Linked DNA regions of Homo sapiens: all the other regions are linked to region 5. Evidence: promoter capture Hi-C in 16 types of primary human blood cells and fetal thymus (Javierre and others, 2016). All regions are on one chromosome and are shown on one strand. Each heading gives the region's core, a stretch centred on a gene start or on the middle of the fragment in contact. The rest is flanking DNA. Distances are from core to core; before and after follow the strand shown. Region 1 has its middle 11 kb from the start of CAND1. Region 2 overlaps LOC105369850 (a long non-coding RNA gene). Region 3 overlaps OSBPL8 (oxysterol binding protein like 8). Region 4 has its middle 8.5 kb from the start of NAP1L1. Region 5 holds the start of ZFC3H1 (zinc finger C3H1-type containing). Region 6 overlaps NAP1L1 (nucleosome assembly protein 1 like 1). Region 7 overlaps CAND1 (cullin associated and neddylation dissociated 1).

The links. The method cuts DNA at HindIII sites, captures the fragments that hold promoters and counts their contacts. A CHiCAGO score of 5 or more calls a contact.
Region 1: a fragment that was not itself captured here is called in contact with the fragment with the promoter of ZFC3H1 in region 5 in 2 of 17 cell types (neutrophils and monocytes); the score reaches 11.4 in neutrophils.
Region 2: a fragment that was not itself captured here is called in contact with the fragment with the promoter of ZFC3H1 in region 5 in 4 of 17 cell types (activated CD4 T cells, non-activated CD4 T cells, naive CD8 T cells and 1 more); the score reaches 5.9 in activated CD4 T cells.
Region 3: a contact is called between a fragment that was not itself captured here and the fragment with the promoter of ZFC3H1 in region 5, in 1 of 17 cell types (non-activated CD4 T cells). The highest score is 5.6, in non-activated CD4 T cells.
Region 4: a contact is called between a fragment that was not itself captured here and the fragment with the promoter of ZFC3H1 in region 5, in 1 of 17 cell types (naive CD8 T cells). The highest score is 5.9, in naive CD8 T cells.
Region 6: a contact is called between a fragment that was not itself captured here and the fragment with the promoter of ZFC3H1 in region 5, in 5 of 17 cell types (activated CD4 T cells, non-activated CD4 T cells, total B cells and 2 more). The highest score is 8.1, in activated CD4 T cells.
Region 7: a contact is called between a fragment that was not itself captured here and the fragment with the promoter of ZFC3H1 in region 5, in 1 of 17 cell types (activated CD4 T cells). The highest score is 15.8, in activated CD4 T cells.

Annotation. Positions count from the first base shown.
Region 1 is chr12:67,257,023-67,260,370 of GRCh38, forward strand. No RefSeq gene overlaps it. Among named protein-coding and RNA genes, the nearest start is that of CAND1, 11 kb to the right of the region's middle. The HindIII fragment of the contact is 5,325 bases long and covers 1-3,348 here.
Region 2 is chr12:76,563,245-76,566,965 of GRCh38, forward strand. All of the region lies in intron 2 of LOC105369850 (a long non-coding RNA gene), which reads left to right. Among named protein-coding and RNA genes, the nearest start is that of OSBPL8, 5.3 kb to the left of the region's middle. The HindIII fragment of the contact is 4,447 bases long and covers 1-3,721 here.
Region 3 is chr12:76,546,627-76,550,042 of GRCh38, forward strand. All of the region lies in intron 1 of OSBPL8 (oxysterol binding protein like 8), which reads right to left. Among named protein-coding and RNA genes, the nearest start is that of OSBPL8, 11 kb to the right of the region's middle. The HindIII fragment of the contact is 5,207 bases long and covers 1-3,416 here.
Region 4 is chr12:76,091,429-76,094,965 of GRCh38, forward strand. No RefSeq gene overlaps it. Among named protein-coding and RNA genes, the nearest start is that of NAP1L1, 8.5 kb to the left of the region's middle. The HindIII fragment of the contact is 9,589 bases long and covers 1-3,537 here.
Region 5 is chr12:71,662,363-71,665,675 of GRCh38, forward strand. It overlaps ZFC3H1 (zinc finger C3H1-type containing), which reads right to left and starts at 1,486. Exons shown (of 35, transcript NM_144982.5): 1 at 651-1,486. The coding sequence starts at 1,248. THAP2 (THAP domain containing 2) reads left to right here and starts at 1,939. Exons shown (of 3, transcript NM_031435.4): 1 at 1,939-2,218. The coding sequence starts at 2,148. RefSeq lists enhancers at 1,109-1,228, 1,581-2,139, 1,589-1,948. The HindIII fragment of the contact is 1,665 bases long and covers 424-2,088 here.
Region 6 is chr12:76,075,235-76,078,779 of GRCh38, forward strand. The region is part of intron 1 of NAP1L1 (nucleosome assembly protein 1 like 1); the gene reads right to left. Among named protein-coding and RNA genes, the nearest start is that of NAP1L1, 7.7 kb to the right of the region's middle. The HindIII fragment of the contact is 2,004 bases long and covers 1,174-3,177 here.
Region 7 is chr12:67,278,230-67,281,420 of GRCh38, forward strand. All of the region lies in intron 1 of CAND1 (cullin associated and neddylation dissociated 1), which reads left to right. Among named protein-coding and RNA genes, the nearest start is that of CAND1, 10 kb to the left of the region's middle. RefSeq lists enhancers at 1-251, 252-751. The HindIII fragment of the contact is 504 bases long and covers 1,429-1,932 here.

The DNA.
Region 1 (3,348 bases), core at 384-2,883, 4.4 Mb before region 5:
AAGTTGACAAACTTTGGAACTGAGTTGTTGGTGTGCACCCAACCTTCCTCTGCCTCTTCTGGGGTGTTGCTGGGGCTCTGCTCTGTTTAGACTTAGCTGCTGGCATCACCATTTAGGCATTTTTATGCATTTGTACTTGTGACACACTCAGGGCTTTGCTCACATCGACTCAATCATCTAGGAGGACAGGTTAAAATTAAGATATGAAATGTGGAACTCTACCCAGACCCGTATGGGGATTTGTTTGGAAGCAAGCTGTTTGTATACATTTGTATTTGTTTGTATTTGTGGCATCCTCAGGGCTTTGCTCACATCCAACTCTGTCACCTGGGGGGCCGTTTTGTGATATTTGTGTTTGTATGGGCCCTGATCTCTCTCTTTCCCCTTCTTCCAACTTCATCCTCTTGATTATCTTGGAAGCTACCCACAGCCTTACTCCTCTGGGCCCAAAGCACCCTTAACTCCCTCTGGCTGGAAATGGCTCACCTTGACTGGCGACTTGTGGAGGTGGGAGATATTTGTCCCACACCATGTAGGTCTGGGGTGCTAAGGCTCTCCCTGATGGAAGATAAATATGGGTGGGTTGGGGGTACTGACCCCACACCCACAGTAGCTGAAAGGCTCACAAGCCCTCCTGTAAAACTTGACCTCTTTCCTCTCCATTCCTTTCTTTTCTCTTTCCCTTGTTCTGTTCAATCTAGGGGTCTAGCCTTGAAAGGGAAAAACAGTTTCCAACATTCTGGCCTCTAATTTTGTCGTTCTCTTTGAAACTCCAAGTGGTTACATATTATGGCCCATTTCTCTGCACATTTTAAACTGATAGACAAATTACAACAAAAAAATTCAAAGCTCAAAGAGTGAACCTACACTATAGAGTTAAATAGAGTCTTATAAAACTCTATCTTTCTTTTTCCTGCCTGCTTTAAATCTACTGTTACTAAACTGCTAGTACTGAGAGAAGACTCATTATTTATGGCCTAACTACAATATAAACATTAAAACTCATTTAAAGTATATATTTTAAAAAGGTTTTGTTAAACCAAACTGCCATAAAGACTACTTTACCCCAGATTTTGGTTCACAGCCTTGCTTAGATTACCTAGCAGGGCAAACCAAGTTTAGCCATGTGAACAGGTTCCAATTTTATCAAAAAAATAACCTAAGAGTCACCTATCTTTTATATGTCCGTGAGTTGGTGGTGCTGTCTCATGACTAGAGCTCCAAGGTAAAAGCTATTGAATCTTTGTGTATGTACGTATACATGTTTAGCTATGGATACATAATATAATAGTTACATTCTGTCTTGTGTCTAACATACTACCAAATTGACATGTAGGTAAGTGAATACTCATAAATTAATCCCGGCTGGGTGAAGTGGCTCATGCCAGTAATCTCAGCACTTTGGGAGGCTGAGGAAGGTGGACTGCTTGAACCCAGGAGTTTGAGACCAGCCTGGGCAACAGGGCGAAACCCTGTCTCTTAAAAAAATATAAAAACTAGCTGAGTATAGTGATGATGCCTGTAGCCCCAGCTACTCTGGAGGCTGAGGTGAGAGGATCACTTGATCCTGGGGAGGCTGAGGCTGCAGTGAGCCATGATCACACCATTGCACTGCAGCCTGGGTGACAGAGTGAGATCCTGTCTCAAAAAAATAAAATTAAGCCCAAATGCTTTACAAGTTCACATGCACCTTTGATAAATAAGCCTGCCTTAAAAATTATTAACAAAATAACATTTAAAATGTTTAAAAAACTATTAACATATATTTTTGTTTGAGTTTATTGATTAAATGGTTTCATATTCATCTCTGCCAAATATTATTAGGTGTCAAAATTTGGCATAAAAATTATAAAAGTATAAACCCACCCAAAACCAAAATATTTTTGCTTATATAATTTTTAATAAATGAAACACTTAATATTGAATAAAAGCAACTAAATCTTCTAAATGATCAACAAAATGTCCATGTGTTTAACGTTTAAATTCTTAAACACCTTATGTTCATAAACTTTGAAATAGTTAAGAAAAAAATAACTTTAAATCATGACCATCCCTATATAATGTTTTCAAAAGTAATCTAAATAAACAATTAAAATAAAAAATTGAGTATGTATGAGATAAATGCTTATAAGTAAAACTTTGTACATAATTTAAAATCTTAAAATCATTATAGATGCTTATTAAATGTCTGTGCCATTTCCAATTAAAAAATTTATTATATGAAAAACATATTCCAAAATTGTAGAATGGTTCTCATCTATAAAATGCTAAAACTTGGCTGGGCACAGTGGCTCACACCTATAATGCCAGCACTTTGGGAGGCCGAGGTGGGCGGATCACGAAGTCTGGAGTTCGAGACCAGCCTGACCAACATGGTGAAACCCTGTCTCTACTAAAAATATGAAAATTAGCCAGGTGTGGTGGCATATGCCTGTAATCCCAGCTACTCAGGAGGCTGAGGCAGGAGAATCGCTTGAACCCAGAAGGTGAAGGTTGCAGTGAGCGGAGATGGTGCCACTGCACTCCAGCCTGGGCAACAGAGCACGACTGTCTGAAAAAAAAGCTAAAACTACTAAAAAACAGTTTTACATACAAAATATACAAAAAATATATTTAAAAAATTAAATCTGCTTTTAGTAAAAAGTTATAAATGGTATAAAAATACAATTTTTTGGCCGGGCGCAGTGGTTCATGCCTGTAATCCCAGCACTTTGAAAGGCCGAGGCAGGTGAATCACCTGAGGTTGGGAGTTTGAGACCAGCCTGACCAACATGGAGAAACCCCGTTTCTACTAAAAATACAAAATTAGCCAGGTGTGGTGGTGCGCACCTGTAATCCCAGCTACTCGGGATGCTGAGGCAGGAGAATCGCTTGAACCTGGGAGCTGGAGATTGCAGTGAGCCAAGAATGTGCCATTGCACTCCAGCCTGGGCAGCGAGAGCAAAACTCTGTCTCAGAAAAAAAAAAAAAAATATATATATATATATATATATATATAATATATATGTATATATGATTTGTGTTAAAAAATATAATTTTGTCTAATCCAAAGAGTTTTAAAAATTACCTTAACAAAACAAAATTAAAAATTTAAATAAATATAAAAAATTTGTAAAGAGTTCATCTTATTTTAAAAGTTCTATAAGCATAAACAAGTTGACTAAAATTTAAAGGGAATTATTTAGTTTCTCCATAGGTTAAACATTAAAATAAAAATATACTAATCCAGGGCCAAAATATGGGACCGTGTGTCTAAATAACAGGGTTTTCTCAAAAAATTAATCTACTTTTTAACAAAAAATTATAGTTATAAAAATTTTATAAAAATTTTACCTTACAATCATTATA
Region 2 (3,721 bases), core at 426-2,925, 4.9 Mb after region 5:
CCTGTACAGAACTGAAGCAACTGACTTGCAGCTCCTGACATACGGCTACTGATGTGAAACAAGAGTAAAACAAAAATATTTGTTGTTGTGAATCACAAATATTTTTGAGATTGTTTGTTGCGTAGCATAATCTTGCAAATCATCTAAAGTGAATTTGAGCCAACAAACTCATGAGTCAAAGGCTAAATGTACTGTGGAACAATAATATTTGTCTATTTAATAAAATAAATAACAGACATCTACAAACTAGTCAACCAGCTATTTGGTAAATATCCACCTAAAATTTATGTTAAGAAGCAGTCTTTATAAAATCTGTAAATTTGCATGCAAAATGTTTGCATGTAAGATATTTACATACTGATTTTAAATATTTCTGTTTAGTATTATTTGTCTTAAATATCCCTTGAGGAAAATTTGGATAGTAAAGTATAAAGAGAATATAGGATTCTGTTTCTAGAAATATCAAGGACTAGTTCACACTTGTCACACTGAAAACAAAATCCCTGGAAAAAACATTTTTTAAATCTTATTAAATATATTGATTAACTGACAATAGGGTAAGAAATTATTAAGTTAAAAAACTAAATGAAGGCAGGAACCTAGAGTTTAGCAGAGTCAGCCAACTTTTATCTCAAGGGCATGTGCTAAACCCAGTTACTAGGAGCATTGGTTTTCGTGACCTTGTAAGAAAGACACAAAACCCATTACCTGCATTATACACACACACACACACACACACACACACACACACACACAAACAACTGCAATTCCAAGGATTATTAATTTGATGTAAGGATATACTAGAAATAAACTTGCTGCTTACTAGCATAGGCACCCATCCCCCAGAATCTACAAAGAAAATTAGCCGTCTTAAACCTTGGCACCTGGTGGACAGGGGAAAAGCAAAATCGTATCTGAGAATTTGGAACTGCAATCCAATTCTCACACAAAAACGTAGCTTGAATTCATACTAGCTGGGTGGTCCCCAAAAACTTCAGGCTAATAATTAAGATTTTTTTTTTTTTTTTTTTTTAGACAGGGATTCTCTGTCGCCCTGGCTGGAGTGCAGTGGCATGATCTCAGCTCACTGCAACCTCCGCCTCCCAGGTTCAAGCAATTCTCCTGCCTCACCCTCCCGAGTAGCTGGGACTACAGGCACGTGCCACCACGCCCAGCTAATTTTTTTATTTTTAGTAGAGACAGGGGTTTCACCATGTTGGCTAGGCTGGTCTCGAACTCCTGACCTCGGGTAATCCGCCCACCTCCGCCTCCCAAAGTGCTGGGATTATAGGCATGAGCCACTGTACCTAGGCGTAATTATGAATTTTTGACTGATAATGCTCTCAGAAACCTGGCAGAAGCAAATACCAATCCTCTCTGGAGGAACCCACCTTCATCTTAAGCCATAAAGAATGACTATAAATAAAATTTTAAGGAAAATGAGCAGCTCACATTTAAAAAAAAATAACAAGCACAGAATAAGACACCATTCGTGAGAAACAGTACAGACTTAAGACAGCACAAACAAATTTTAAAAGACTTCAGATCCTGGATTTACAAGTCACGGACTGGGCCAGGTGTGGTGGCTCATGCCTGTAATCCCAGCACTTTGGAAGGTCAAGGCAGGCAGATCACTTGAGGTCAGGTGTTTGAGCCCAGCCTAGCCAACATGGTTAAACCCCCATCTCTACTAAAAATACAAAAATTTCGCCTGTAATCCCAGCTACTGGGAAGGCTGAGGCAGGAGAATCGCTTGAACCCGGGAGGTGAAGGTTGCAGTGAGCCAAGATCGCGCCACTGCACTCCGGCCTGGGCGACAGTGAGACTCCACCTCAAAAAAAAAAAAAAAAGGGGTCACAGACTGTAAATAACAATATTAAATATGAGTAAAGGAATAAAAGACAAGTTTGAAAATATGTGCAGAGAACAAAAAACTAAAGTAGGAATGAAGATTTTGAAAAAAGCAAATAGAACTAAAAGAGTTGAAAAACATAAATGATTAGAATAAAAACTCAGTGGACAAATTTAGTAGTTCATTTGACACAGCAGAAATACAAGCCAATGAAATGGAAGATAAAGATGAAGTTAAATGCAATAAAAAAAGAAAACATAAATTAAAAATATAAAAGAGACTTTAAGTGACATGGAGGACATTGTAAACAGCTCTAAAATCTAATTATGACTTCAGATGAAAAGGAAAGAGCCAGTGGGCCAGAGGCAGTATTTGACAAGATAATGGTTGTGAACTTTCCAGAACTGATGAAAGACTCCAACTCACAGACTTAAGAAGCCTCCCAAATCCCAAGCAAGTTAAAGAATAATAAAACCACGCTGAGATATATCACAGTGAAACTGTAGAACACCAAAAACAAAAAAGAAAACCTTAAAAGCAACAAAGAAAAAATATAGTTAATCTTCAAAGTGTCAGGTAAATGACTTTTCATCAGAACCAGTGAAAAACAGAAGACAGTGGAATAATATCTTCAGTGGACTAAAAGAAAATGACTGTCAGCCTAGAATTCAGTACCCAGTGAAAAAATTATTTCAAGAATGAGGCCAAAATAAAGGAATTTTCCGGCAAGCAAAAGCAGAATTTGCCGCTAATAGAGTCTCGCTAAAGGAAAGTCTAAAGAAATTTCTTTTTTCAGACAAAAAGAAAATGATCCCAGGCCAGGCACAGTGGCTCACGCCTGTAAATCACAGCACTTTGGGAGGCTGAGGCAGGAGGATCACAGGAGTTTGAGACCAGCCTGGACAACATATTGAGATTTTATCTCTACAAAAAATTTAAAAGTTAGCTGGGCATGGTAATGTGTGCCTGTGGTCCTGACCCGGGAGGCTGAGGTAGGAGGACTGCTTGAGCCCGGGAGATCAAGGCTGCAGTGAGACATGATCACACCATTATACTCCAGCCTGGGTAATAGAGAGAGATCCTGTCTCAAAAAAAAAAAAAAGAAGAAGAAGAAGAAAATCAACTCAAATGGAAGGTCTGAGAGTTGATAATAAACGAAGAGCATTAAGAGTGGTAGATATTTGCCTAAATCTAAATACAATTGACAATGCAAACAAACAGTAAGTATTGTTAAAATTATTTTAATAAGTTTTTTTAAAGAAAAAAAAATCACATATCTAACATTAGAAATAGACCCAACCAAATTTGCATTTTATGCCTACTATTAGACCTCATTAGACAAAGTATTTTACAAACTAGTACTATTATCTCCATCTGATACATACCTTTTATTTTAAAAGCAAAAACATGATACATTTCTTCTTTTCTCATCCATAGAGGCAAATTGTATTAATATATTATTGGTATTCTCTTTTTAAATAACAGCATTTTAAGTGTTTTTCTTCACAATGACATTCTTATTTCAAATTTACATAATGTACCAGTGAAGATGATGTATTACATAATTAGACTAAGAAAGTAGCATATATTTAGGAGATCATGATTTAGAGTAATAAAAAGCAGAATTATATACTATTTTCACTTAACTATGAAGTATTAATGATTCCCTCCATAGAAGTCTATAAATGAAAGTTCATCATAACAAATTATATAATTATGTATTCACAGGTTAAAGACAATTAAGTCTTATTGAAATGCTCTGCCTACCCTTTCCACCCACGTTGCCTATTCAAAATTATGTGCATGCTATGACTTTTAACACCATCTTGGGAAATAGCTAGAAATTTGTGCGCAGGTATAAGGATTGAC
Region 3 (3,416 bases), core at 220-2,719, 4.9 Mb after region 5:
AACATAATAGAAGGAATAAAGGATTCAATCGGTCAACAAGAAATTAATCATGACAACTGATATCTGAGAGGGAAAATGTTTAGAATACCTGTAAAAAATAAAGCATGAGGTATATAACCACTTGATTCTAAAAGTTTCTTGATCTAAAATCAAGAGCTAGTTTCACAGAATATAGAGAAAGGTAACAAGATCATCAGTAATCAGTCCACTACATTAGAAAATATTTAAAACTTTGACTTCCTGGACAATGAGCAAATTTAAAAAAAATGTAAAGGGGCCAATTATTTTCTAAGCTACTTTAAATTTCAAACAAGTACAGTATTTACTATGAAAGTTCTATAATACCTTATATAATCAGGCCAAATTTGGGGATTTAAGCCTTCCAAATCACAACCCCTCTGACAGGATTTTCAACTTCAAAGTAGTCAGCATTTTTTAAATCTGGCGTGTAAAAACCTCTGACTGCAGGAGAATTACGACTCCAATTACAAAAGACACACATTCCAATAGTCAAAACCATAGCTGTAGAAGAAAGAACTTCAAAATCTTATGAGAAAAGAATTGAAAACGATTAAACAAGATTAAGAGCAGAATTAAACAAGATTTGCATTCTGCCAATGCAGAAATATCACAGAAGAGAGGGAAATTAGATGAATGTATTTAAATTTATTTACCCAGGTTAATTTACAATAGTATTCTAAGCTCAATCAATATGGAGCCTGAAGATTATGAAAAGGAGTATGGGAAAAGAAGTAAAAGACAAGTTTAAAACAATGCTAGGAACAAAAAAACAAAAAATACAAAACAATAAAAAAGAATAAAACAATGCTAGCAAATTTTTATGAGTAGAAAATGAAAGGAACAAATGAAAATTAAGGCTTCCAATGAACTTGCCAGGCAATCTAAACTCAACATTTAAAGTACCAAAGATAACACAGAAGACAAGGAAAAGCAATGGAGGAAAAAATATCAACTACTGAACCAAAGTAGCTATCACACATGAGGCAGAGAAGTAAATGAAAAAGAATAACCCCTCACCCATCTAGATACACTTGAGAAACAGAACAAAAGACTTCCAAATAATTAAAATGCCACAAGGGTCATGTGTTTAAAGCTAAAATGCCATTCCCTGGAGCAAAGTCACTATTTTACACACAATTCTAAACAGTTTCATTCAGTTTCCAAGTAGCAAACAAGAAATGGCAAGATAATCATAACAACATGCAAGTTGGGGTAGGGGACAACGAAAGGGGAAACAAAAACTATGAAGCAAGCAAGAATTCAGAGTTCAAGTTTTAGGACCAAGCGGCATAAAGGCACAAACAACTATACAAATCAATAGTGAAGGGACATAAGTGTATTTTAACACTGTATCATGATCATCATAATTTCTATGAATAAATCTGCATTAACAAAAAAATAGTTCAATAGGCTCTGTTTCTTCTGTTTATGAAGCTAGAAGAAGACTTCTAATAAAAGATGGGGCGCTAAATACAAACTTTCCCTTCAGTTACTCCAGATACTCCACTGAAATAAAAACAACTCATAAAAGAAAGAAAATCGTAACAGTAAAGAAATTAAAATTGAGGCTAGAAAGAAAATCCAACAAATTTCTGGGAAATGAAAGTATATGTGAGATTGATAGAAATAACAAGCGGAAAAAGCCACAGCCTCATTATAACCTTTAAGAGTGACATGGAAAGGATGGGAACCAATACGTCTGAGAAGATCCCCAGGAAAGCATGATTATAAAGTAAATGGTACAGCAGAGGGTGGAAATAAATAGTAGGGTTAAAAATAAGAGAACTGAGTATTACTTGACTAACTATAAGGGACAGCTATATCTCCCATCCCCTATTTCCAAGCAGTTTCTAAACAACTGACATTTTACCTCCAGGCAAAAAAACAAGTCAGCTTTTCCCTAAAGAAAGTGAACCACTATCTAGGGAAAGCTAAGCGGAGGTGTGGCACAGAGTAAACACATCTCATCCAGCATTTAAAGGGCCCATACATAGCCTAGCAGCTAGCTCCTCTCTCTTTTACCCTAAAACAATCTGCCAAGAGACAGATCCTACTCTGTACTACCTTGCCCCACAAAGTGCTCTGGCCAGAATTCCTACTCAAAGAAAAAAAAATCTAATAGGGAAAACAGTCCAAGGAACAGGGGAGGGAGGGTGACCAGGAACCTAGTCTGTCTTTCTTAACCATGAATGGACAACCAAGAATTATCAGGCACATAAGGAAAACTGAGCATGAAAAAAGAATGATTACAAAAACAAACATAAAAACTGACCGGAGGAGAAAAGGAGATAAATTAGACACAAGGAGACACAAGGTATCTTTAAAAAAATCTAATTTGCACATTCTAAGACTCAAGACGACAATACAACATAGTGTAAAAATGGTGGGAAAAGAAAAAGAGAACAACAAAACTTACAGATTACCCCCAGGAAAATCAGCCAAAATACTAAAGGGGAAAAAAAACCCACAAAATATAAAAGATGAGAGAAGGAAGATCAAGACAGAAAGCAACTGCCTACTGAAAAGCAAAAAACATGATGAAGGGAGGAAATTATTAAAGACAGAGAAGAGTTTCCTGGAATTGGAAAAATAATCTGATTCAGACTGTAAGAGCAACTGAGTATCTAGACAAACAGCCAAACAAAACAAAAATGACCTATACACCTCATTATGACTTTGTAGAAGATACAAAAGAACGGATTCTAAAAGTTTTCAGACAGAATAAAGAACAAATCACCTTAAAAGGATAGTGAATCAGACTGATACATGACTCCTTCTTTTTTTCTTTTGAGACGGAGTCTCACCCAGGCTAGAGTGCAGTAGTTTGATCTCGGCTCACTGCAACGTCCACCTCCCAGGTTCAAGTGATTCTCCTGCCTCAGACTCCTAAGTAGCTGGGATTACAGGCACCTGCCACCATGCCCAGCTAATTTTTAGTAGAGACAGGGTTTCACTATGTTGGCCAGGCTGGTCTCAAACTCTTGACCTCATGATCCACCCGCCTCGGCCTCCCAAAGTGCTGGGATTACAGGCGTTGATGTATGACTTCTAATCAGCATCCCTAGATGCTAGAAGACAACAAAGCAATCCTTTCAGGGTTCTAAAGGAAAATTATTTCTAACTAACAATATTGTACCCAGCCAAATTATCAATCATTTGTGAGAATAGAATGGAGACTTTTTTACACAGAATTCGGAAAGTTTGCCTCTCATACATACTTCTTTTTCAAAGAGTTATTTGAAGATGTACTCCAATAAACAGATCAAGCAGATGCAAAAAAAAAAAAGGAAAAAAAAATATGTATAACAGAATGGATCCAATTCAAGAGTAAGGAGAAAGGAAGTTACAAGAAAAGACCTAGAAGAGTCCAAATGGAGGCAGAGTTACAGACAAAT
Region 4 (3,537 bases), core at 816-3,315, 4.4 Mb after region 5:
GTACAAAATGCTGACAAAGACATAAAAGAACAGGAACTCTTAACTCTGCTGGTGGGAATGCAAAATGGTCCAATCACTTCAGAAGACTGTTTGGCAGTTTCTTCAGTGGCTCACGCCTGTAATCCTAGCACTGTGGGAGGCTGAGGTGGGAGTTTTGCTTGAGCTCAGAAGTTTCAGACCAGCCTGGGCAACACAGCAACATCTTGTCTCTACAAAAAATTTAAAAATTAGCCAGGCATGGTGGTGCATGCCTGTAGTCCCAGCTACTCAGGAGACTGAGGTGGGATGTTCACTTGAGCCGGGGGGAGTGGAGGGGTGTATGTGGGGGGGTCGAGGCTGCAGTGAGCAGTCGTGTTGCTGTTCTACAGCCTGGGTGACAGAGCGTGACTCTGTCTCAAAAAAATTTAAAAATAGGCCGGCAGGCACAGTGGCTCACGCCTGTAATCCCAGCACTTTGGGAGGTTGAGGCAGGTGGATCACCTGAGGTCAGGAGTTCCAGACCAGCTTAGCCAACATGGCAAAACCCCATCTCTACTAAAAAGAGAAAATTAGCCTGGCGTGGTGACCGGCACCTGTAATCCCAGCTACTCAGGAGGCTGAGAGGCAAGAGAACCACTTGAACCTGGGAGGTGGAAGTTGCACTGAGCTGAGATCATGCCATTGCACTCCAGCCTGGGTGACAGAGTGAGACTCCATCTCAAAAAAAACAAAAACAAAAACAAAAACAAAAAATGAACAACAAAAAAATTTTAATAATAAATGAAATAAAGTTTAATATACATTTACTATATGACACAGTAATCCTTCTACTGAGTAGTTACCCAAGTGAATTGAAAACTTATGTACACACACAAACACACACACGTATACAACTTTATTTCTAACTGGCAAAACCAGGAAACAGTCAAGATCTCTCTCTGCAGGTGAGTGGATAAACAAACAGTGGCACATTTATACGATGGAAATAAAAAGAAAGGAGCTACTGATTCTGAGGTAGGAGGCAGGACTTGGCTCCAGAGGTGGGGTTTGGACATCAGGATCAAATTGAGGACTAGCTAAAACAGGTCTAGGGTGGAAGCACCTCTCCATAAGACACACCCACCAGTGTGCTTGTCAGTTTACCATTGCCATGGCAACACCTGAAAGTTACCACCCCTTTCCATGGCAATGACCTGGAAGTTACTACGCTTATTCTAGAAACTTCTGCATAACCACCTCTTAATTTACATATAATTAAAAGTGGGTATAAATAGGACTGCAGAAGTGCCTCTGAGCTGCTACTCTGGGCACACTGCCTGTAGGGTAACTCTGCTCTGGCAGGAGGAGTACCTTTGCTGCTGCTGTACCCTGCCACTTCAATAAAAGTTGTTATTTAACACTGCCACTCACCCTTGAATTCTTTCCTGGGCAAAGCCAAGATCGCTCCAGGACTAAGCCTCAATTCTGGGGCTCACCTGTCCTGCATCAATTCACTCAACAACATGGATGAAACTCAAATGCATTTTTGCTAAGTGAAAGAAGTCAGATTCAAAACTCTATATATTACAATTCCATTTCTACAGCATATGTAAAAGGCAAAACTATGAAAATAGAAAGCATCAGTGATTGCCAGGGGTTGGAGGAGAGGTGCAGAGTTGACTCCAAAGGGGTTGTAGAGGGGATTTTTTAAAGATAATGGAATTGTTCTATATTTTATAGGTAGTGGATATATGACTATATACATTGAGCAAAATCCATTTGCTATATTCAATTTTTCAGAAAATCAACCAGATGTTGGGGGATCCTAGGATGAGATGCAGACTGTGACAAATTAATCTAACTGAATTATAAACATATAATCTCACTGAGGGGGTGAGTAAAAAAGGAGCTGACTTTCGAAAACAGTATTTTGACTGGACACTATAAGGCTAAAGGCAAAAAGAGCTACACATAAACATTGCACTATAGTTGATAAATTTATTTATCAAAGAGATAATAAGCATTAGCAATTTGGAAACTAATTTCCCTGTATACTAGGAAATCTGTATTCGTTTGCTAGGGCTACCATAACAAACTGGGTGGCTTAAGCAATACGATGTATTTTCTCATAGTCCTGGAGGATGGAAATCCCAAATCAAGTTGTTAGCAGAGTTGGTCCCTTCTGAGGGCTGTGGGTGAAGGATCTGTTCCAGATCTCTCTCACTGGCTTGTAAATAGCTGTCCTCTCCCTGTGCCTCCCTCTATGTGTGTGTCTGTTTGAATTTCCCTTTTGTATAAGGACATCAGTCAGATTAGAACCCACCCTAATGACCTCATTTTAACTTGATTATCTCTGTAAAGATGCTATCTCCAAGTAAGGTCACATTATGAGGTACCGGGGTTTAGGACTTCAACATATGAATTTTAGGATAACACAATTCAACTCCTAACACTAGGGTTTGGCAAATAACTAAATAATTGTAGATAATGGGAGCCAGGTCTCTTGCTACTGGGAAAAAGTCACAAATAAGCAAGGAGAGAAGGCTAGAATGAACCATGGGGTGCTGGATTAGGGTCAGAGATAGAGGTATGAATGAATTCATGCTTATAGATAGATGATAGATGGATGATAAATAGATGGACAATAAAGATGTATATATACATAGGCTAATATATTTCCTAGCTTTGCCCACTGAGGAAGCCTAGAAGCAATGTGATATAGTTTGGATATTTGTCCCTGCTCAAATCTCATGTTGAAATATAATTCCCAATGTTGGAGGTGGGGCCTGGTGGGAGATGTTTGGGTCATGGGACAGAATCCTTCATGGCTTGAGGCTGTCCTCACCATAGTGAGTGAGGAATGAGTTCTCATGAGATCTGGTAAAATGTGGTACCTCCCCCACTCCACTCTGCCAATGTTATGCTTGCTGTACAGGCTGCAGAACCATGTGGCAACTAAACCTCTTTTCTTTATAAATTACCCAGCCCCAAGTGTTTCTTTTTCTTTCTTTTTTCTTTTTTTTTTTTTTTTTTGAGATGGAGTCTTGCTCTGTCACCAGGCTGTAGTGCAGTGGCATGATCTCAGCTCACTGGAACCTCTGCCTCCGGGATTCAAGCAATTCTCCTGCCTCAGCCTCCCAAGTAGCTAGGACTACAGGCACACACCACCATGCCTGGCTAATTTTTGTATTTTTGTATTTTTAGTAGAGTCAGGGTTTCACCATGTTGGCCAGCATGATCTCGATCTCTTGACCTCATGATCCACCTGCCTCGGCCTCCCAAAGTGCTGGGATTACAGGCATGAGCCACGGCACCTGGCCAGGTGTTTCTTTATAGCAATACAAGAACAGCCTAACACATAGTGACACCACAGTAACAACAAGCATGACCAGTTCACAAATCTTAGTTTCTAAATACCATTTCCAATTAAAGGAGGGAAAACGCAAGACGAGTCTGGAACATCTTATAGTGCTAAAAAAAAAAAAAAAAAAAAAAAAGAAAATTATAAAAGTAGGAGAGAGGTCAAAAGGACACCAGAGGCAATTGGAAAGAGTTCCCCAGTGGCCAAAGCTGGAACAA
Region 5 (3,313 bases), core at 236-2,735:
CGAAGTTACACAATGTGCAAAAGTGAACACAGATAGAAACGTAAAGGAGGTAAAGTGTTCCAAAAAGATCAAATGAATCAAAAAGCTCTGAAACAGACTTGGTAAAGACACCAGAGTTGTTTTTTTTTTACCCCTCCCCCCCCCACTTTAAAAGGCAGCAACCGGAATAAATCAAGATAAAAACAGAATCACAAAAATAGTGCAGGACTGTGCAGATTAAAACTTTACAATTTTCAACGTCAAACTGCAATATGATAAAGCAACAATATTACTTAAACTGTTTATGAATATTTTTTCTCTAACAATCCAAGTCAACTTCATATAAAACACAAAGTTTCTGTACCAGCAAAAATACAAATGCTAATGAAACTTGGGCTTCTAAGGTATTATTACAAATCAGACTTAACTGTCTTAGATTTCATAAGCTTAACCCAATCCACAGCACGTTAATATACCCAATGAAGCAGTCTTAAGAATAACGCTATAGTGTGACACATGGGGAATTACCAAAGAACAACTTAAAGTATACTGACACAGGGAGAAATAAGCGGTTCTGATGATTCAAAGTTACACTCGTCTCACAGACCTAGTAATGACGCTAAAGGGAACTTTAGTGACACACCCAGCGCCGACCGCCACGTTAAGGATACAGCTCTTCCGAGGTGGAGAGGGCTCTCGCCAGCTCTGACTGCTGCTGAACCCGGATCCTGCTCCTCCTCCCAGAGGAGGTCTGCACCCCGGCTTGCCTCCTCGCTCACCCACTCCTCGCCCCCGACTCCAGCGACTCCCACCCCGGTAAGGCCTGCCTCGAAAGCGGAAACGGTCCAAGGCGAGGTGGCTCCGCTCCCAGAAAGACGGCCGGGGACTGCTTTCGGACAGTGAGCTCGAAGGCATCCGTACAGAAGGCGGATGAGACCGGAACGGTTCTTTGGGTCGGTAGCTGCTGGGTCCCCTGAGGTGGCCCCGCTCAGACGCGTGCCGCGAGCGTGAGAAATTCCTCAGCTGCTGCTGAGAAGAGGACGATGACGAGGAAGAGCCACCGCCTCCGCCAGATCCACCGCCCCGGGCCGAGTGAGGAGGCCTTCGCCGCGGATAGGGTAACAGCCCGCCGCCGCTGCTGCTGCTGCTGCTCCGACTCCGTATCTGGCTGTTATTATCGTCGTCACTGATTTCCCCATCTTCAAGCTCCCCTTCTTCCTTCGGCGAGAGGCCACTGGAGGCCGGGGCCGGAGTATCTGCGGTCGCCATCCGGGGAGCAGCGCCTTCCACACAACCTTAGCCCTCCGTCCGGGGATCCGCCCGACAATTGCCTCGTTTCCCTTCTTTCCTAACGGACTGGGTCGGTGCGGTCTTACCCTACTCGGACACCAAGCGGCCTCTGCTCCCCAACTTCCCCGCACCCCAGCACCCCAGCTCTCTCTCGCCGGACCGTCGCAACCCAGTTCCCTTTCCTAGCGCCCCCTTGCTCCTCAGCGATCGGGGTTCTTCCGCCTCGCGAGAAAGGGACTCTGGTAGCGGCTGTACCCGAAACGTCACTTCCTGCGACACGCAGGAAACAAAGGCTCCCAGTTCACGCGATAATAAGACCAACTCGATACTCACTAGGATTTGTAGTCTTTCGTCTTTCTTCGGGTTTACTCTTCCGGTCCTAGGGTCACACCCACCGCAGGGTCTGGCTTGGTACAGTTGGGTGCATGCAGAAGTAGGTGGAGCTGCTGTTGCAGCCTTGAGAGAGTTTTATTGTAAAACTCTTGTAATTTATAGTAATCGGAGGGGAAAACACCTCTTCCTTTTAATTGCTCTGAGGACCGCTGCCAAAGAAACGCAGTAGATCCGCTCCCTCTTGGGGGCGGGGAGAAAGAACGGGTTGTGTCCGCCATGTTGGTGAAGTCAAGCGAAGGCGACTAGAGCTCCAGGAGGGCCAGTTCTGTGGGCTCTAGTCGGCCATATTAATAAAGAGAAAGGGAAGGCTGACCGTCCTTCGCCTCCGCCCCCACATACACACCCCTTCTTCCCACTCCGCTCTCACGACTAAGCTCTCACGATTAAGGCACGCCTGCCTCGATTGTCCAGCCTCTGCCAGAAGAAAGCTTAGCAGCCAGCGCCTCAGTAGAGACCTAAGGGCGCTGAATGAGTGGGAAAGGGAAATGCCGACCAATTGCGCTGCGGCGGGCTGTGCCACTACCTACAACAAGCACATTAACATCAGCTTCCACAGGTAACCTGGGCAGGGAGTGGGGGTGACGGAAACTGGAGTTCCTATTGTGGCTATCGCTTGTGTGGAAGGAACAGGAGGATTCTGCTAATTCTAATAACTTTCCCAGCTGGTAGCAGGGAAGCATCGTATGTCCTTTGTGTTTCTCAAATCTGCCCAATTGTTCTCTGCTTTCGGGGAAGCTTTACTCATTTTCTAAAAGAAATCCAAGTACTGTTTGGTCATTACCCCTTAGTAAAAAAAAGTAACAGGAGGATATCGTAATTTTCTACTGTTTTATTCCTCTGTTAGACCGGGCCTTGACATGAATGACGCCGTAAGGGAGAAAGAGATCTTCCCAATCAGCAATCACCGTAAAAGCCTGCTGTGTTCCCGTTAAAATTAGGAAATTCTCACTAGATGAATTGACATGGGAGGCATTTAGATTTCTAATAGTCACATAGTAATTCTGCGGAGGAATTGAGTCATCTTTGATAGCCATGGAATTAAGCGATGTTAATTAAAGTGCAAAAGATAACCTTTCTGTTCTTACTAGAATAGAGTAATAAAAAGAACCTAGGTTTTCTTTTGTTTGCTGGAAGAAAAATCAAAATTCTTTAGTTCTGTCAAACCAGAACTCTTGAAAGCACTTTGAACAATGCCTGGAAAATAACAGGTACTCTGTAAATGTTTACCTTCTCTGCAAGTGCCTGCCACGTGCCCGAAGAAAAGACACATTAAAAAGTTAAGTGACACCAGTCCTGATTTTATATATTTTATATACCTAACAACGTATATGTTAGTATGTAGAAATTATATCCTTGACCTTTTTCCCTACCTATTACGAACTGTACTTTTATTAAAAGCTGCCACTTAAAAAAAATCTTGTGATGTTTCTGTTTTTAAACTAGTTCATGCATATGTAGTGCTTTGTTCATTCATCCATCAAATATGTACGGAGTTCCTAATTACCTGACATTGTGCTAAGGATCCAGAAAGTTCTAACCCTCCTGGAATTTAGAATTTAATGGTGGAGAAAGACATAAATAATTAAGTGCCACAGAAGAAACATTCAGAGACCTAACTTAGTCTTGGAAAGTCAAAGAACACTTTTTCAAA
Region 6 (3,545 bases), core at 926-3,425, 4.4 Mb after region 5:
CTGCCCAAGAGACAGGAAGATCTTTTGAGCACAGGAGTTCAAGGCCTGCCTGGGAAATACAGCAAGACCCTGTCTCTAAAAAAATTATGAATAAATAGAATCAAGTTATCTGGTAAAAATTAAAATCTTAATACATATTTAATTCACAAAATCCTGCATGTGTTTACTTTCATAGCAACGTATTATGCCTATGAACAAAGAGTTAAAAATGGAAAACATCCTGATTTTAGCAGTTAAGTGCTAATATTTGGGGGAAACATTATTACTGACCTAGTATCTATCCTTTAGAGTAATTATAAAGAAAATTATTCTTCCTAATGTATCTAACTCTGTAAATATTTTGTATTTGTTATAAATAATTCCTAATAGTACTGATGAATTTTTCTAGTGATGCTGGGTAATGAGTCAGCATTTACAAAGTGTTTAGCAATTATGAATATTAATCAAAAATAAGAAAAATACTGAACTCTGACATCAAAGAAATCCAAGTAGGATTCCAGTTTGTCTACCACATCATCAATAACTTCTTTTTAATACAGGGAAACCTGTAGTGCACATGCATCCTTATTTCCAGCTAGTGTTCCCGTATCTTTTCTGGAGAGCAACCTGACAATAGGAATATCAAAAGCCTTAAACATGTCCATCTCAGCCAGGCACCATGGCTCACACCTGCAATCCCAGCACTTTGGGAGGCCGAAGCAGAAGGACCGCTTGAGGCCAGGAGTTCAAGACAAGCCTTGGCAACACAATGAGACACTGTCTCTTAAAAACATAAAAATTAAAAAAACAAAATATGTCCATCTCCAGATTTATTCACTTATGAGCTCTACCATGAAAAAATTATAAAGAATCTAATGCCTTTGCTTTCCATGTTCACCTAGAAGGTTCTTCCACAGCTCTGAACAAGTCCTGCACATCCTTTGGCTCTCATTTCAAAGTTTCACTCCCCAGAGATGCTTTCTCCAACCTGCACATTCCGGTTAAGTAAGATTTCTTGGTTGTACACACACTCCTATAAAGCTTTCTTTTCTTTCCACCATAAGATGTCTCAGTCTGTAATTATAAATTAGTTTGACCTATGGTCTGTCTCTCCCAACTGACAAAATTCATGATTACAGGAATTAAATCTGATCTTGACAATCATAGCGTTGTCTTCTTTGGGGTAGCACACAAAGCTTATTATAAACTTAGTACTATAATGGAATATGCAAAAATGGAATGCTTTGCAGTCACAAATGAAACAGATCTGAGTTGATATGAAGGAACACTAAAGCAAGGTATAGGATGTATGCCGAAATCCCCTTTGGATATGGAAATATATATATATATATATATATATATATATATATATATATATATCTCCACTCATATACGCACATACTTTAATACAAATAAACCCTTTCTGAAAACAAACACCAAAAACCTAACCAGAGTAACCTAATGAGAAAGAAGGGACTGGGGGTAATGAGAACTAATTTCCCATTCACCATTACAGTCATGTGTGGATTATATGTTCTGAGAAATGTGTCTCTGGGTGATTGTATTGTTGTTCAAACATCAGAGTATACTTACACAAACCTAGATGGTATAGCCTACTACGCACCTAGGCTATGATATAGACTATTGCTCCCAGGCTACACACCTATACAGCATGTGACTGTATTGAATACCATAGGCAACTTTAATATAATGGCTAAGTATTTATGTGGTGCATGACTGCATTTGGTTTTCCAACACACAGATTTATATAATAATTTCCAATACACAAATTTATTCTGAGATTTGCTAGGTTTAATATATAGTGTCTACTAAACCCAGCAATTGTCAAAAACAGAAACAAAACCTAAAACTTCCAAATTTAAATTTTTGTAACATTTTAATGTGTTCACAGAATGGCTACACTGCTAACCTCAATGTCCATTTGCAGCATTACATTTACAGTTTAAATTCTTAAAATGAAACTTTAGTAAAGAGGATCCAAGACAGAACATTTACAGAACATTAACAGGAGGCATTTACTCCTCCAGAGAAGGCTGCTCTAACCTGCCCATTCTGGCTACATTGTATTTCTTGGTTGTAAGATAGACCTAATTTTCTAGTCAGTTGTAGTCAGATCATTTGGGCTGACATCAACTTTGTAGCAATCTACAAACTAAGACAAACAACTTCTGGCTCTATTTCATCATCTATATAAAGCAGAAAAACATCTGAGGAAGTGGGACCCAAAAATCTGCATTCTAAACAAGAAACTCAGCTTCTGAGAGGTGGTTCTCAGGTAGACCACATTGAGAAACACAAGTTTAGGTTAATACCTGTATTAATATTTTACTGCAGTTGACATTAAATAAAATCAGTGAGAATCTTATTTGTTATACATTAAATTGCATTCCAAGATCTCTGTGAAAAACTTTCATTCCTGAAAGCGACAAACTAGATTATGCAGATCAATTCTACCAATGAAAAATATGGCCGGACGCAGTGGCTCACGCCTGTAATCCTAGCACTTTGAAAGTCCAAGGCAGGCGAATTGCCTGAGCTTAGGAGTTAGAGACCAGCCTGGGCAAAATGGTGAAACCCAGTCTCTACTAAAATACAAAAAATTAGCCGGGCGTGGTTGCACACACCTGTAGTCCCAGCTACTCAGGAGGCTGAGGCAGGAGAATTGCTTGAACCCAGAGGAGGAGGCTGCAGTGAGCCGAGATCACACCGCTGCACTCCAGCTTGGGTAAGAGCAAGACCCTGTCTCAAAAAAAAAAAAAAAAAAAAAGGAAAAGAATTAAAAGTACAGATGTTTTTTAACAAAAACATTTTGTTAAAAATCTTAAAAGCACTGAAATGCTAACAAGATAGTAAGGAATCACCAGCCCAAAACTGAGGGCAAAACAGGAGCAGAAGGAAGGCACTTTTGCACTGAGGTCAACTGCCAATTATCAGCAACGTGAACTTTGGTTTTAACCAAAGTTAAAATTCTGGGCCTGTCCACGGTGGCTATCTTTATGGTAACCCTCCCAAATTAAGCAGGAACCCCAAAATGCTATATCCTCAAGAATAAATTCATTCTCCTGGACAAACAGCCCAAATTTACCTCATCTGTATTGCCCTCCAAACCCCAAGCTATGTACTTAAAATGATCTGTCCCTGGTATATTCAGACACCTGTATATCAAAATTAAATGAAAGCTTCCTTCTAGACCTTAAAAAATTCATACAAGTAATTTTCACAGCCAACAGGAAAAACAGAAAATATAACAGAAATCAATCCTACACAAAGACTTAAAAATTGTCAGACTATAAACAAATACATACCTACAGACATAGTAAGCCTGGTTGTCTTTGATCTAAGTTTGAAAACACACTGTCTGCAAGGAAGTCATCTATTAAAGGTGATATAACAAAATTTGGAAAACTAGAACTTCTAGAAATAAAACTAATGAATCAAACTAAATGGGCTGGCTTAAGAGTAAGATACACAGCTGAAGAGAGAATTAAGTGAGCTGAAATGAAGCCTAGAAGAAAACTTTGAAAATATGGCAGAGCCACAGAATC
Region 7 (3,191 bases), core at 431-2,930, 4.4 Mb before region 5:
GGCTTCAAGCGACTGCCGCCCAGGTTCAAGCATTTCCCCTGCCTCAGCCTCCCAAATAGGTGGGATTACAGGCATGTACTACCATGCCTGGCTAATTTTGTATTTTTGGTAGAGACGGGGTTTCACCATGTTGTCCAGGCTGGTTTGGAACTCCTGACCTCCACCTGCCTAGGTCTCCCAAAGTGCTGGGATTACAGGTGTGAGCCACCATGCCCAGCTCCTACTCTTCAGATCAGTCTTTCCTGACACAACCCGCAGTTCAGTCTAGGTCATGTTACTTTGTTTATATGATAGTGCTTTCTTGTTTTGGGATGAATCTCACTCTGTCACCTAGGCTGTAGTGCAGTGGCTCAATCTCGGCTCACTGCAACCTCTGTGTCCCAGGTTCAAGCGATTCTCCTGCCTTAGCCTCCCAAGTAGGTGAGATTACAGGTGTACACCACCACACCCAGCTAATTTTTGTAATTTTAGTAGAGACAGGGTTTCACCATGTTGGCCAGGCTGGTGTCGAACTCCTGACCTCAGGAGATCTGCCTGCCTTGGCCTCCCAAAGTGCTGGGATTACAGGCGTGAGCCACTGGCACCTGGCCCCATAGTGTTTTCTTGATAACACTTTCCTTCATAGCATTTATCTTAGTTCTTAGTTCTACAGGTGCTTACTCATACATGCAATTTAAAAAGTTAATATGCCTTTTACTAGACTGCAATGTAAGCTCCAAGACAGCAAGAATTGTGTGTGCTTTGGTTAGCCCTTATATCAGCAAAAACTAGTACAGTACCTGATATGTAGTAGGTTCTTATTACACAGTGTATGAGTATATAACGCCATTCCCATTTTGACCTCAGCCTATATTCCCATCATCTTCCTATTAGGTTTCTGTGCTCCACATACTGAACTGTTTCCTTAGTCCTTCACTCTGAGGTGCTCTGTCCTTCCCCACCACCAAAAAAAAAAAAAAAAGTAATTTAAATTCCAAACCAATTTTTCCCATGCAAACCCCTGTTCATCCTTTGAGATCCAACCTAACAGTCAACTCTTGGGTGTGATAATTTCCATATGCTCTTGAGTAGTGTTTTATAAAATGTATTGAGATCTGTGCCCTTAGCACCATACCTAAAAGAGTAAATGCTGAAGAGACATGGACATGCCATGGACAGCTTTCAAACTGGTCAAACAGCTTCCTTAATAAGATTAATAGTGTAAATTTTTAATACCACATTTATAGAAGGAATAAATTATTCCCAGAACTTTGTGATTTCAGGGTCACCATTTAAAAGCAACTCTTGGTATTATAATAATCTACTTTTTCTGCTTTTTAAAAATATCTATTGCTAATTTTGATAGTGCTCATTTCAACTTTTTAAAATATTTAACCATTAATCATAGATTTTTGAAAATCAGTAGGCTTCTTTATTACAATATAAGTAAGCTTCTTGATGTTAGGGGGGCCAAAGTGTATTCAACTTTTATCTGTCCTGATTTCTTAGTCCAGAGTTTCTTACATAATAGACAGTGAATAAATAAACAATAAGTAAAGAATGAATTTGTGCCGGTAGAACCATACAGGACCATAAAACAACTTTTTACTTGGGATTATGTTTTTCTACTTAAATTGATGATCCCTGTTTTCTCTGGAAGCAGGTAACTGGCACTGCAGTGGTTCTTAGAGGTCATAACTATTATGGTTATTTAATGGATTTTGTTTAAGTAAAACAGTTAAGATTTTTTCAGTACTTTGTGTGCAGGAGTGCCTGCATTAATGTGTTATGCAATTTTTCCACTTTCCAGAATATTAATGAAAATTAGTCATGTAGTTTTAATTTTGTTTTGTCACATTATAAAATGGGTGAGGGGCTTCCAATTAGGAGAGCTGTGTCCATTTTTTAAAAGTACGTGCTTAACTGATCTTGTATTGCCCTAATGCAAATATAAGCTTTTTTAAAAATAAGCAGTTTTACAGAACGTGGTAAGAATTAAACTATTAGGTTGGTGCAAAAGTAATTGTGGTTTTTACCATAATACCTACTTGCATGTAGTGTAAAACTTTGTCAGATCAGCATTAAATGAACGTACTAGTTATTGGAATTATCCTTAAAATTGCCTTACATGTAATGCATTTCTAAATTATTAAGTTGTTTTGCCAACCTTTACCACACAGTTTATTTCCCATGTTGCGGACTATCTCCATAGCTGTTTATCAATTCAGCTCCAATAGTTGTTTTTTTGTTTAAACATGGATTTTGACATTTCTCTGTAGTGTACAAAATAACGTATTTTTACTAAAACTGTATCTGGTTCAAATAAAAGAAAAAAGTGTTAACTAGTTATCTTAGTTGGATTGCTTCTGTAAGTGGAGGGGAGCCAAGAATTATGGGACAAGTTCATTTGACTTTTAAGGAGGTCTTAGGGCTTTATTTGAATGTGATTATCTCATATTCTGAGAAATCACTTTTAAAACAATGAATTGTTTGGTAAGGCATGTGGAGAAGAAAATCTGAGATGCCGTTTATACCTTATTTTACCTGAGACTCTATTTATCTTGGCCACCATTCAGTCCTTTTCATTTAAAGCTGAGATTAGATGATTGATCACTCTGGGTTTTTGCCAGGCAACACACTGTTAAACCTTCCTTTGGCAGTGGTTCTTAAGGGGAGGGGAGGTGGGCGATGTCAGGGGGAAGAGCTACTTTTTAGAATCACCTCTTCACTATTTTGAAAATAAGCCTGGTGGCTGGGCACAGTGGCCCCTGCTTGTAATCCCAACACTGTGGGAGGCCGAGGTAGGTGGATTCCCTGAGGTCAGGAGTTCAAGACCAGCCTGGGCAACATGGTGAAACCCTAAAATACAATAATACTAAATTATTTTTTATAAATTATTTCTTATAAATTATAATTATTATAAATAATACTAAATTATTATTTTTGTATAGTAAATACTAAAAATACAAAAATTAGCTGGGCGTGGTGACAGGCGCCTGTAATCCCAACTACTTGAGAGGCTGAGGCAGGAAAATAGCTTGAACCTGGGAGGCGGAGGTTGCGGTGAGCCGAGATCCTGCCACTGCACTCCAGCCTGGGCGACAGAGCAAGACTCCCTCTACAAAAAAAAGAGAATGAAAAAGAAAATAGGCCTGATACCTAGTGATGGGTATTTTGGAAAATTTCCAGTAATATGTGATCATCCCCTGCAA